Linked DNA regions of Homo sapiens: region 1 is linked to region 2. Evidence: promoter capture Hi-C in 16 types of primary human blood cells and fetal thymus (Javierre and others, 2016). All regions are on one chromosome and are shown on one strand. The core of a region is centred on a gene start or on the middle of the fragment in contact, and the rest is flanking DNA. Distances in the headings are between cores, read along the strand shown. Region 1 overlaps ARHGAP22 (Rho GTPase activating protein 22). Region 2 holds the start of WDFY4 (WDFY family member 4).

The links. The method cuts DNA at HindIII sites, captures the fragments that hold promoters and counts their contacts. A CHiCAGO score of 5 or more calls a contact.
Region 1: a fragment that was not itself captured here is called in contact with the fragment with the promoter of WDFY4 in region 2 in 1 of 17 cell types (total B cells); the score reaches 7.8 in total B cells.

What each region holds. Positions count from the first base shown.
Region 1 is chr10:48,546,026-48,552,643 of GRCh38, forward strand. All of the region lies in intron 3 of ARHGAP22 (Rho GTPase activating protein 22), which reads right to left. Among named protein-coding and RNA genes, the nearest start is that of ARHGAP22-IT1, 38 kb to the left of the region's middle. The HindIII fragment of the contact is 1,326 bases long and covers 1,156-2,481 here.
Region 2 is chr10:48,680,738-48,687,894 of GRCh38, forward strand. It overlaps WDFY4 (WDFY family member 4), which reads left to right and starts at 4,136. Exons shown (of 62, transcript NM_001394531.1): 1 at 4,136-4,264. RefSeq lists enhancers at 3,058-3,137, 4,068-4,367, 4,386-4,926 and a silencer at 3,358-3,407. The HindIII fragment of the contact is 16,271 bases long and covers 1-7,157 here.

The DNA.
Region 1 (6,618 bases), core at 569-3,068, 140 kb before region 2:
CCACTTAAACAGGCCCCCAAGGCAGAGATGTTGTTAGTGATCAGGACTCCCTGGCTTGATCCTGGAGAACTTGACACATAAACTTGTAAATGCACGAAAGACTCAGGGCTCTGCTTTAAGCAGCCTGGCTTCTGCGCTGCCTCCCACAGGGGTCCCCGCTACTCCTGTGGCAGTGTGGTCTTTTCTGTCGACATTGCCAGGGTAGGGGTGGGGGCACAGAATAGACATTGGTGGAGATGAGCATCAGACATTACAGTTCTTGTAAGCCCCTCAGTTGGTCTACCCTGAGTGATCTTTCTAACACATAGTTTTTGTTTTATTTTTAAGGATTCAAATGTACTTTACTTTTTCCATAATGCCATATTTTAATGGGCACATGGAGCTTTTACTTGGCATCAATTATGATTTGTGTTTTAAACAATTCAGTATGACACCAGCTGGGATGATTACTGATCTCTCCATTCCGTTAGGGGTGACCCTGGCAACAGGGCACAGATTCCATCCAATTCCAATTGGTGTTGCAACATAGGTCCATACGGGCAGTAGAGAAAGAGGCTCCGCTAGCTAACATGGCATTACCATACCTGTCATGAAAATCATGTGTACATTTCTGGTGGCTCTGCCTTTCCATTGTTTGCTGAATGCTTTGAACTCTGAGGTTACTTACTGTGCCGTTGGCCAAGGGAAATCCTGAAGCTAAAGATAAAAGTGTCTCAGTCAGGGACACCTCTATCAGAGCACTCATCACACAGCATTGTGATGGGATTGGGTTGCTGTTATTAATCATAACGATTAATGATTAGAGAGCATGCAGGGAGGAGGGGAGCTTATCTAGACCAGGTACCTACTATGAGCCAGGATCTGGGTTCTCAGTGAATCCTCACCACAACCCAAGGTGCTTGGCAATATTCTCACCCCCAGTTTATGGGACATTGAGGCACGGAGCCCTCTGTGACTTGTCAAAACCCACACAGTCCCTGAGTAGCATGGCTATGCTCACATCCAGCTCTCCCTGACTCTGGCCTGGAGAGATGGGTGGTCTGGAACAGCACTGACTAGATGCTGTGAGGCCCTTGATGTCTGTTGAGAGTGTGTGGAAAATGGGCACAAACAGGAAGATGGCTCCCAGGCTTGCCTCCCCAGCTCTTCCTCGGAAGCTTCCTTTCTACATGCAGACACCAGCTTGCCTAGGCAACATCTGCATCCGCGTGTGGTGTGTCTGGCGACAATCAACCCCATGGCCCTGATTCCCATGGGACACAATGCTAGCTTTGCTACTACCATGGTCTCTGAAGACTGGTTGGAGCTGAAAACCCAAGACCTCAAAGCCATCCCTGTCCAGGCCTCCTATTGCCTGCAGGATTCCCATCTGGTGTTTGGGGAGTTGGGGGGGAGGCCCCAAGGAGCCCAGTGGGAGGGAAGGAGCATGGACCTCTGTGGGAGAGCAGAGAGCTTGCCAGGCCTCTGAATGGTACAGCTGGCCCCCGAGTCTCCTGACCCTGATCTTGAGAAATATGGGGCTCCCAGCCCAAAGCAGACAGGTGCTCCAGGATGGGGACTAGACCCAGGCCTCAGAGCAGCTGTGGTACCCTTCACCTCCTTCTGCACCAGAAAACAGAGCACTCTCCTCCTCCTCCTTTTCCTCAGATCCAGGGTGGCCATTCACGTCTTCCTCGGGCTAATCCTCAGCACTGCACACTCAGGTCCTTCCCCACAAGTAGGAATTGCTCCTGAGTGTGGGGGGCCATCGGCTCGGTGCAATGTTGTTGAAAAGGCATCCCGTCCTGGCCCCTTGTCTGGCACTTGGAAAGGGCAAGGCCAATGATGTGACACTCAGCCCTGCAGAAATACAGTCATGGACCATCTGGAGCAGTGAACATTTGACAGAGACTGGCTGTTTGTCTTCTACTCTCCCCTCTGGAAGGCACCCAAGTTCCTTTGGAGTCTCCTTGCCCCCACTAGGCGAAGTCTTGGGAGGGCTGGTCCAGATGCCAGAGTGGATAGGCCCTTCCTCACCACCCCAGTGTAGTCAGGGGTAGGCATGTAGCTTAAGCACAGATACTGAGACTTTGGGCTTTCGGCAAGTGAGCCATGCCGGGATTGCAGAGCCAGGCGAGATTCAACCTTCCCAGCACAGAGTACCACCCGCTCGCCCCTCCCAGCTCCTGGCCCCGTGACAGCCCAGCCGCTTGCCCCTTCCACAAGTGTCACTCCCATCACATCCTACCCCCTGGTTTCTGGTGAATTTCCCCTTTGCTAGAGTTAGCCAGAGCTGGCTTCTGCAACCTGCTCCAACCAGGACTCTTAATCTCCACTCCCCCGGCCCCACCCCATTTACGGTTACTCACTAGAAAGACTTATGGTTCTGGTCTCAAGCCTGCAGCCAACCCACTTGGTTCCCTTTGATAGCACCAACCCACTTGGTTCCCTTCAATAGCATTGTGCTAATTCCAGAAGACGGATTTTAGCAATGAGTTACAAAGCTTAACGGATGACCTAATTCATCTCACCAAACATGGCCGTTTTTTGGGGACAGGCCTGCTCTGGGATCTTAGCAACTCTTTTTGCCCAGAGTGCCAAAGCAGGCCTCTCCACTCCCCACCCGCTCCTTGTGGATTTAAAGGGAGGCCTAAACTTGGCCTGGGGCTGGATGCCCACATCAGCAAAAAGCCCAGGTCTGAGAGGCCCCCAGGATCAAGTCTGCAAGGAGCAGACAGCTTTCAAAGGGCTGGGAGGGGCAGGGTTTGCCAGGCAGCTGCCCTGGCAAGACAGAAGTACCAGGTGGGCAGGACCTGGGGGTCCTTGAGTCTCAGTCCCTTTGTGGGGCCTGGCTCCTTCATGCCTGCCCCGGGGGAGCTAGCCTCAGCAGGCTGAGGAAGAGCAGGGCTCTGGGGTTAGAGCTGGCTCAAGCTGCAGTTCCACCGCTCACCGGCCCTCGGATCCCAGCAAGTTACTTAGCTTGTCAGAGTCCCAGGGGCCTTGCCTGTTAGATGGGTTAGTAGAGGTTAGTCCCAGGAGTGTGGTGAGGATAAACGTGGTGTGCTCAGCTTCATTCCTTAGAAGGAACTCAGTGAATGTTTAGCCCACTAGCACTCATACACACCTTGGTCTACAACCTCAGGCACTCAACAAATATGATATTTGTTAGAAAGAATCATGTTAATTCTATCTCCAAGCCCTATGTTCCCAGGCTGGAAGGGAGCTGAGTCCCAGCTACTATTGAGATGGAGGGAAGGGGTCCTCTTTGCTGTGGTCAGGCTTACATGGGGCCTGGCAATGGGATGGGCTGTTCTTGGTCCCTCCTGGTCACCTGATGTCTTTACCTGCAGTCACTTGGGGCTGGAAGCTAGGTAGCTCTCCTGCCTTTCTTGACCATGGTGTGTCTGTCTGAGGCGGGACCCTGGTGTCTGGAGCCTGCTTTCCTGGTGGCACCATGCCTATCACCTTCCTGGGGCATTGCTGGGGGCAGGGTGACCAGTCTAGGGGAACGCCTCTTTCCCGACCCTGTCCACATCAATTATCTGGGGTGGGAGAGCAGGAGATTTCTGCTTTCTGCTGCAGAGACCTCACCTTCCCCTGAGGCAAGTGGCCTAGGGATTAAAAAGGGCCAGGAGATCAAAGCACAAACCAGCATCTTATACATTATACGGTCCTCCTCCTCTTGGAATAATAATTATTAGAATTAAAACATTGGTTATAGCTTTGCCTGCCCCCAATTAACTCAAACCTCCTCTCACTCAGTCCGCTTGTGAGGCCCATCTCATTCACCCTTCCAGGATTCTAAGTCCCCCACTATCTCTACACCAGGGGCAGCCTCTCCACCTTGGACCCTGAGCCCACTCAGCAGTGTTTTTTGCAAGCCCTCCAGATGAGGCGGAGGCTCACTAAAGCTTGAGAACCACTGCCCGACACCATTCTCCTGCCACAGAGGACAACTTTTCATTCTGGCAGAAAGCTTAACCTCCTGTTGCTTCCAATCCTTACATTAAATTCAGTTACCTATGTGCTGAGCGCCTTGGAACTAAGGTGTGAAGGAGACACACAGACCCCGTGCCCACTGTGCTTGCCCATTGCTGCTTCTGCCCAGCTGCTCTCCCTGATTCTTCACCTGGCTGACTCTCACTTAACCTTCAAAGAGCAGGGTCGTTGTCACTTTATCCTGGAAGTCCCATGCACTCCCTGCGTGCATTAGGGTCCCCTCCTCCAGGCTCACACAATTGCCTTTTTACTCTCCTCCTAGCCTTTCTCATCCTGTGAGTCAATGTCTGCCTTCCTGCCTGCTTCCTGAACTTGTTAATTCTGTGAGGGTAGGAAGGTGTCTTTCTTACTCCAAGGTAACAGATCATTATACAGAATGGCAGGACTACTGACTGTTCACCAAACCAGCCTTGCCTTCCTCCTGGAAAGAGGTGGACTCCATTTCCCAGACTCTCTTGCTCCGAGGTGTAGCCATGCAACTGCATTCTGGCCAATGGGCTGTGACGGGATGATGGGGCCACTTCCAGGCCTGGACCAACACATCTCCCAGGCATGATGGCCTCCTAGCATGGAAACAACTAGGATACTTTTGCAAGCCACAGGTTTCAGATGGCGAAACCATGAAATAGGAAGATGCTGGGAGATCAACTGCCTGCCAATCACAAGTGTTCATTTTTGACTTTATATGAAAGACAAATACATTCTTGTGTCAAGATCCTGAGATTTGGGGGTTATTCCAGCAGTTCACTTACCCTAATACAAAAAAGCTAAGCTCACTGGAGAATAAACATGAAATGGTTTTACTTTCCCAATAACTATGCCTATCACTTCCTACCTTCCCTTTGAGTCGTTGCTCACTTGGTGATTTTCCCAGGGTCCAGAGTGTGTGCCACTCTTAGTTATTCTAACAGTCTCATTAAGGATCTCTCCAATCCTTAATTCTGTTCCCTCACATCTGGTTCAAAGCTCTTTTTGTGCTGCTCCCCCAGCACTGTGGCCCTCACGGACTGGGGTGTGCTGGCATAGATAGGGGTTGCTTCTCCTAGACTCTTCCCTGAACTGCACCCTGGGCACTGGGGTGGGAAGGAGGCAGAGGGGAAATGTAGACCTTTCTTTGCTTGCCAGGCAAGGTTGCAGTTCCCTCCCTGGTGGACGGTGTTGTGAACTGGGGCAGGGGCACCCTCCCAACCAGCTCCTCTGGGCACTGGGGATCTGTTGTGCGTTCTGACCTCAAATCTCAGCTGACTTCCTGCAGGTGGCATCTTGCCTGTCTGCCCTGCACTATGAGAATTCTAGAAAGTCTGAGGGCCCATGTCATCCTCTTTTCTCCATCAGTGCCCAGGCCTGTGGTCCCACAGAGGCTTCACATTCTGCTCCTCTTGAGAACTGGATGCTTACGGCAGGAGGTGTGCCTGGCAGAACCCCATTTGCCATCAGTCCTCAGTCAGATTTTCCTTGCCTGGGTAACCATGAAAAGCAAATCTTGTGTGTAAGCAACTGTCCAAGCAAGACACAAATGCCAGTCACCCTTTCTCTCAGCCTCCCTTAAACTTTATAAGTGGTTTTCCTGCGTGTCCCCGCAGCTTCAGGGAGGAGACCGTCACCTCTGCCCAAAGCAATTGCTCCCACCTCTCAGTACGCTTTATATACTGACCATGTCGGGAAAGCAGTGGCAGGCCACAGCCACAAGAGGACAGAAGTCCCACTGGCACTAAAGCCCCCTTATAAGAGTGTTTTCTCTGTGTCTTGCTCAGTGGCTGGATGTGCAGGTTCTCAGGTGCTTTTGGAACCAGAGGTGTATGCTGTATCAAGTTCCAAGACCTCCCAGCCCAGATGGGAACAATGCTAGAATCTGTAGGAGGCCCCATATGGCCAGATGTCTGTGTTGGAGGGCAATTTTAGTGTGTGGCTTTGGAAGCCAGATGGCTTGGCCTCAAGCTCCACTCCTATCTAGCTGTGCTGGCTGAAAGGCTGGGGGTGGGCAACAGGGCCTGCACTTTCTGGCCCAGAACTGGCAGATCTCTCCACTAGATGGCACTCACAGTATAATGTTTCCTCATTTTTAATTCTACTTTGAAAACATTGTCATTTTTTATACCGTTGAATTGCACAAATAGAACTATGGCTTAAAATTTACGTAGTTAATTCTAGGCATGACCTTCCTTGGAATTCTGTCACATTTCCAAGAGTTGTCAAGTTTTTCCCCCTCTTGGGGGTGCTGGTTGGAGAGTGAGGGACCCATTGTGGTGTGACCAGTACCACAGGCCAGCACAGGCATAGCCTGGAAGTGATCCGGGGTTTGTCCTCCTTCCTCATATCCTGCCCTGATTTCCTGGCCTAGGCCCAGACCCCAGGCGGGGCTGTTAGGCTCCTTCCTGCGCCTGTTAGTTCACTGCTCACAGAGCCTGCCACCTGGCACCCTCGGAACTGTAGGAGAAGCCCCTTGTCCCCCCAGATGCACTTGCCACCCTTCACCCACCCAGCCTGGATTTCCTCTTGGTCTTTGCACATTTACCCCGGGGGCTGTGCTTGGTGCACACTGGCATGGCCCACTTGGTGATACTTCCTGCTCCTGCCCCCAGGTAACTGTGCTCAGCCTAGTGAGGATAAGTCCTTATTGTGCCTTGAGCTCAGGAAGAA
Region 2 (7,157 bases), core at 2,886-5,385:
TTTTCCCCCTCTGTCCTTCAAATTGTATAATTTTTATTAATAAGTCTTTAAGTTCATTAACCCTTTTTTTCCTGTGGCCACCAATTTGCTGTTGGTCTATCAGTAAAATTTTTACTTCAGATATACTTTTCAGTTCTAGAATTTACATTTGAATCTTCTTGTATTTTCGATTTTTTTTTTTTTTGCTGAAATTTGCCTGCTTTTTTTTTAAGTTCCTGAATATATTTCTGATAGCTGCTTTAAAGTTCCTGTGAAATAATTCCAACATCTGGTTCATCTTGGGGTCTATTTCTATTGACAGTTTTTTATTTCTTGTTATGGGTTACATTCTTTTGCTTTTTCAGATTTCTACTAATTTTAACTCTATGCTAGATAGCATGGATGTTAAATTGAAAGGAGGCTGCATTAAGTTTTCTTCCTTTAAAGCATCTTGAGTTTTGTTCTGGTTGGCAGTTAAATTCCTTGGCTGCAGTGGCTCACACCTGTAATCTCAGCACTTTGGGAGGCTGAGGTGATGGGATCGCTTGAGCTCATTAGTTTGAGACCAGCCTGGCCAACACGGTGAAACAGTGTCTCTATTAAAAGCACAAAAAATCAGCTGGGCATGGTGGCACGTGTTTATAATCCCAGCTACTTGGGAGGCTGAGGCATGAGAATTGCTTGAAGCCAGGAGGTGGAGGTTGCAGTGAGCCGAGATCACCCCACTGCCCTCCAGCCTGGAGGACAGAGCCAGACCGTCTCAAAAAAAATTACTGGAATATCCTTTTAATTCTGTCAGTCTTGCTTCTTTTATTCTTTGTTTGGTTGTATTAGGGTCCTCCAGAGAGACAGAACCAATTGGATATACATATATATATATATATATATATATGTATATGTGTGTATATATCTATATATATACATGCCTGCTCTTGTTTGTTTATTTCTTTATGTATTACAAGGAATTGGCTCATATGATTATAGAGGATGAGAAGTCTTAAGATCTTCAGTCAACAAACTGGAGACCCAGAAGAGCCAATGGTGTAAGGTCCAGTCTGAGTTCAAAGGCCTGAGAATCAGAAGAGCCAGTGTTGTAAGTGTTCCAGTCCAAGGGCAGGAGATGACTGATGTTCCATCTCAAGGAGTCAAGCAGCCAAAGTGTCCTCTTACTCAGCCTTCTGTTCTATTCAGGTCTTCAACCGATTGGAAACCACCCATGCATATTAGGGAGAACAGTCTGCTTGACTCAGCCTACTGATTCGAATGTTCATCTCATCCAAAAATACCCTCACAGACATGCCCAGAATAATGTCTCGCCAAATGTTTGGGCACCTCATGGCCCAGTCAAGTTAACTCATAAAAGTAACTTATCACATGGAGCTATTTTATTTCAATTTTGAACTTGTTCCAACTTTATGGCTTTTATTCTAGGCTGTGGTTCTTACTTCTTCAGTGTGGAGTCTGAGCTTCAGAGTTTTATGGTTTTAAATTTCCTCTCATCATTACCTTCATGTTTAGCCTGCAGGAGGACTCCTCTGATTGGTGTTTCAAGTTTGGTCTGCGGATTGGGGAGGAAGGAATACAAGAGGGCAGCTCTGAGCTTGGTGGGGTGAGGGCTCTGAGGTGTAAAGTGAAGTCCCACAATGCTCAGCAAGGTCTCTCCACACTCCATGGGATGCGACTGCAACATTCCAAGCACTGCACATTCTCTGTTACCTCCTTCAGTGCTCGGCCTTGGGTCAGTTGACCTCTGCTGGGTCTCTTGGAGTCTCACCCTGTGCACACATAGGAATCCTTGGCCAAGGGCACACACAATGAGTTCCCACAAGGCACACTCTCCTCAGGAACCTGCCCTGAACATACCAGAGCCTTCAGCAGCTTTGAACTCTGACTTAAACCTTTTCAGTTCAGGGAGACTACTGTCTCTGGGGCCCCACCTGCCTGCATCATAGCAGAAAAAGCATCACTAGAAAAAACTCCAGGGCAATTGTGGGGCTCACCTTGTGTGTTTTCCTTATCTCAAGGATCACAGTCTTGCTATTCAATGCCTGAAAACAATTATCTTGTGTATTTGAACTATTCTATAGTTGCTTTCAATGGGAGGGTATGTCCTATACCAGTTACACCACCATAACTGGGTGCAGAAGTAAAACTGCCATTTTGGGGCAATTGTTTAAAAATCAGAGAATCTTACATTGCCCTTTAACAAAAATACACATTTACATTAGCAGTTCATAGTTGCCCTGGCTGCTTCAGTGTCTTAGCTTTGGCAACTCTCTCACTAATAATAGCTTGCATTTGCACAGCCCTTTTCAGTATTTAAAAACTCTCTTGGCCGGGTGCGCTGGCTTACGCCTGTAATCCCAGCACTCTGGGAGGCCGAGATGGGCGGATCACGAGGTCGGGAGATCGAGACCATCCTGTCTAACACGGTGAAACCCCGTCTCTACTAAAAATACAAAAAATTAGCCAGGCGAGGTGGTGGGCGCCTGTAGTCCCAGCTACTCAGGAGGCTGAGGCAGGAGAATGGCGTGAACCCCGGGGGGCGGAGCCTGCAGTGAGCCGAGATCGCGTCACTGCACTCCAGCCTGGGCGACAGCGAGACTCCGTCTCAAAAAAAAAAAACCTCTCTTGCAAATATTATTTGATTTGTTCCTTCTAACAAGGCATTCATTCATTCTGCAAATAAGATGTCAATTATCTCAGTTAAGATAGTGAGAATTTCAACCTTGAGTTTCTAGCTCTGAATTTAGTGCTCTTTACCTGCCTGCTGCTGGCTACCCGGCAAGGTGCTGGGGTGGGTAGAAGGTAGGAGACCTGGGTGCAGGTGGGCCCTCCAGCAGACTTTGCGAGATCCCACTATGACAGACTCTCCGCGCTTCCTCTGGGCATTCACAGGCATGGGGTCCTGGCCTGTCCCATGCTGGCCACCCTTCCTGCCTCTGTGGAAGTTCCTCTGTCTAATCCGCTCTTACCATAGGCCTCTGATTTCAGGCAATATCTTCTTGTAGATTTTATTTATGATTTCATTGGTGACAATGACGAGGGGTTTTCATCATATACAACAAACACTTCACTGCAAATTCTCTAAGGTTTTCTCTTTCCCTTGGCTGGCACTGCATGTATCCTTTCAATTTCTCTTTTCTTTTCTTTTTTTTCTTTTTTTTTTTTTTGAGACGGAGCTTCGCTCTTGCTGTCCAGACTGGAGTGCAGCTGGATAGATCTCCTATTTTGGCTGCTGTCTACTGACAAGTTTGCACTGGTGGAGGTTGAGGTTTTGTGACAAATGTTATTTTCCTCTTTAAACCAATCTTGGAGCTTTACTCCATGTCATAACAAGTGATGTTGTTGCTGCCTCTCAGTCAGTCATGCATGGTCCACTGGTTTTGTGAGCTAGAGACAAGCGATGAGCTGCACTGAGGATCAAGGATCAGGCATTAGCGCTAACAAGTGCCCTTGCTCTTTGGCAAAATTCTCCTTTTACAGAGCACAAGCAGGATTGTGTGTGAATGGACATGCTTGTTTGTACTGTGGAGATGACGTTATGGATAGGTGACATGGATAATTCAGCCTAGTTTATATACTCAGAGGAATGAGAATTTGGAGTCTGAGTTTCAGAGACTTCCATTCTATGGTTTTAGATGTCCTCTCATCCTTGCCTCAGTGTTGGCCGCAGGAGGACTCCCCTCATTGGTGGTTCAAGTTCTATCTGAGGATGGGGGAGGAAGAAATCCAAGTGGGCAACTCTGAGCTTGGTGGGGTGAGGGCTGCCCAACCCATGCCATGTCCAGGGGTGCACTTAAACACACCTCTGATTAGATTCACCTAACACCATCATTGTTCTCATTTTGCCAGAGGCCCAGAGAGGAGAGGTGTGCACCAGTGGTCACACGGCTAGTGAAGAGGGGACACAGAATCCAGACCTACTCTTCTAGGGCTGGGCTGTACTTTCCATTTTGTCCTTGGCCCCAACCAGCACCGCTTGACCACGGAGGCTGCACAGCCAGCCCCAAGGGGCCTTGCTGCAGAACCCAAGTCACCCGCCAGAACTCCAGCAGCTCCGTGGTCGGCTGGAGAGTGGGCAGAGTCAGGCATCTGCCGGCTCTCCACTTCTGCTTTCTCCAGGAAATGAGCAGAGACCCAGCTCCAGTGATTCAGAGTGAAACGGCGCTGAGGACTGACGATGTGGGGCCGGGTCCTCTTCCCCCGAGCCTGAGGGGCTGCAGCTGGGGATAGGGGGCCCATGCCTTCTGATGTCTACAGGCGCTGACGGCCACCCCTCCAGGTAGGCCACCTTGCTCTTGGCCCAGCCAGGCCAGCCTAGAGGTGGGCATATGGGCGCCGCCTGTCAGCGTGGGGCCTACTGGCTGCCTCCTGGGAGGCTGACTATGGGGCACATGTGACCCAGTGCCTGGTTTGGGTTTGTGAATGTGGGAGAGGAGGTGAGCTGGGGAGCAGGAAGTGTGTGTGGCGTGGGGGGCCCATGTGGTCAGGGCCACTCCAGGGCCTGGGTCTGCCTGAGTGTGTGTCACTGCTGAAGTTTGGGAGTCAGGCTGGGCTCCAGCAGCACTCCTCGACCTCTGACGGTAGGTCAAGTCCTTTCTCGGGGTCCTGCTATGAAGGGAACCCTGGGAAGGGCTGACACGGGCTTTCCTGGTTGTCGAGGGGGCGGAGAGAGCAGGCCGACAGGACAGTGAGGCTCGCCCTCCAAGCTCCCTCATAGGCCTCTGAGGAGTGCAGAGTTGGAGGGCCATTTCCAACGGGCCTCAGAGGGAGCTGGTCTATCCCGGCCCTGTCATTACTCCACTGGGTTCTGGTAAGTAGGTGCCTCCCTGGGCTCACTTCCCTCATCTGAATTATTACAGCAAACCATTGAAACGCCTGCATTTTCTGCCTAAGCAGGGCCACCTGCTCAGTAAGGACTGATTCTTCTTTTCCCCTGAAATGAAACTTCTAGAACACTAAACCGATCCTTTGTCCCAACTCATCTAAAGTGTGGGGGGGCTGGTTTGATAACTAAGGGCTCTATGCATTACCCTTTCCATGGAGCACACTAATTTTAATATGAGTTTATGTATAGTCATTCATTTAGTTATTTAACAAATAGGTATTGAGAAACCACGCCCTGCCAGGCTCTGGTCAAAGCGGACAGGGGTCTACGGTGCTCAGCAGGTGGGAGAATAGCAGGTAGGGTGGGGGTCTTGGGAGGGTGGGGATGGCTCTAGTCTTCTGAGAGGGGACCTGTGAGGGAGGCCGAGTCCTGTGGGTTTCTGAGAAGTGTTCTTGATAAGGGTCTGGAGGAGGAGACCTCGTGGAGGTTGGTGTGGCAGAGCCGGGTAAGGGGCATGCCTGGGGTTCTGGCCAGAGAGGTAGGGAACAGGGTCAGGTCAGGGAGGCCCTTCCTGTCTGTCCATCCTGAGCACATGGGCTATTCTTTCATGAACTTGGAAAGATTTTCTGTGTTGAAAGAAAAGAAAATTTCGGCCAGGCGCAGTGGTTCACGCCTGTAATCTCAGCACTTTGGGAGGCTGAGAGGGGCAGATCACCTGAGGTCAGGAGTTCAAGACCAGTCTGGACAACACGATGAAACTCCATCTCCAAAAAAAAAAAAAAAAAAGAAGGAAAGAAAAGAAAATTTAGAAAGACCATAATAAGATAGAAGTAATAAAAACAGCATAAACCCTGTGTGCTGACACCTTAGATTTTTTTAAAGATCAGCATCATCTCTGAGGTCCTCTTCATGCCCATCTTTCACCTTCCCTCTTCAGAAGCAGCAACAGTCCAGAATTTTGGGTTTATTGTTCCCTTGCTTCTTTTTCTAATTTTACATCCCATATTTAAATCGCTATATATGTATGATTGCAAGTTGTTGAACTCTGTAAACATGGAATTAAATATTCTTTTAAAATTTGCCTAATTGGTTCAAAAGTTTGTTTCTGAAATTTCTTCATATTGTTGCATGTACCTGTAGATAATTAAAGTTTTCTGCAGTACAGTATTCTATTAGATGAGTGTACCTCAATATATTTATCTGAGATGCTGTTGATGGCATTTTAGGTATTTCAAGAGTTTATTTTTTTTTCTATTATAAGCAGTGCCGCTAGAACTATTTTTGTACATGCATCTTGGGGCATGTGTGCAAGAATTTATCTTGGGTATATACTCTAGAAATAGAATTGGTGGGTCATAGGTTGTACATATCGTCAGCCTTACTGGATGTCACCACGTTGTTTTCCAAAGTTTTTGCCTCATTTTACCCACCCCTCAGCAATGCACCAAAGTTTCTGTTGCTCCACTTCTTCATCAGCATTTGATATTGTCTGGTACTGTATTTCTGCCAATCTGGTAGAAATGAAAAGCTATCTTAGCATGTTTTTAATTTGCATTGACCAAATTACTAAGGTTGGACATCTTTTTCATATGTTTATTGGCCATTTGGGGTCCCTTTTCCTGTTCACATTTTTTGGCCATTTCTCATCGGGTTACCTGTCTTTTATCCTATTGATTTGCCATAATTCAATACATATTCTGGGTACTACTTTTTGTCATTTATATATATAACAAATATTTTTCATTTGTTGGTGCCTTGTCTCCTTATATTCCTGTGGTTTTTATTAATGACTGAATTTCTTAGTTTCAAATAAGTTTATCCACCTGTCGCTTTATGATTTATACTTGTTATGTGTTATCTAAGAAATTCTCCACTATAAGGTTGTAAAATTATTCTCATATTATTTTCAAAAAATGTTATAATATTACTTTTTACACTGAAGTCTCTAGTCTGCCTGGAAATGGCTTTTGTGTATGGCGTGAGGTGGGAAGAAACTTTATTTTATTCTGCTTTTCCCATATGGATAACCAAGAGTCTTGGCACCATTTATTTAATAGGCCATTCTTTTTTTTTTTTTTTTTTTTTGAGATGGAGTCTTGCTCTGTCACCCAGGCTGGAGTGCAATGGCATGATCTTGGCTCACTGCAACCTCCACCTCCCAGGTTCAAGCAATTATCCTGCCTCAGCCTCCCTAGTAGCTGAGATTACAGGTACATGCCACCACACCTGGCTAATTTTTTTTTTTTTTTTTTGAGACAGATTCTTGTTCTGTCACCCAGGCTGGAGTGCGGTGGTGCGATCTCAGCTCACTGCAACCTCCACCTCCCAGGTTCAAGCGATTCCTCTG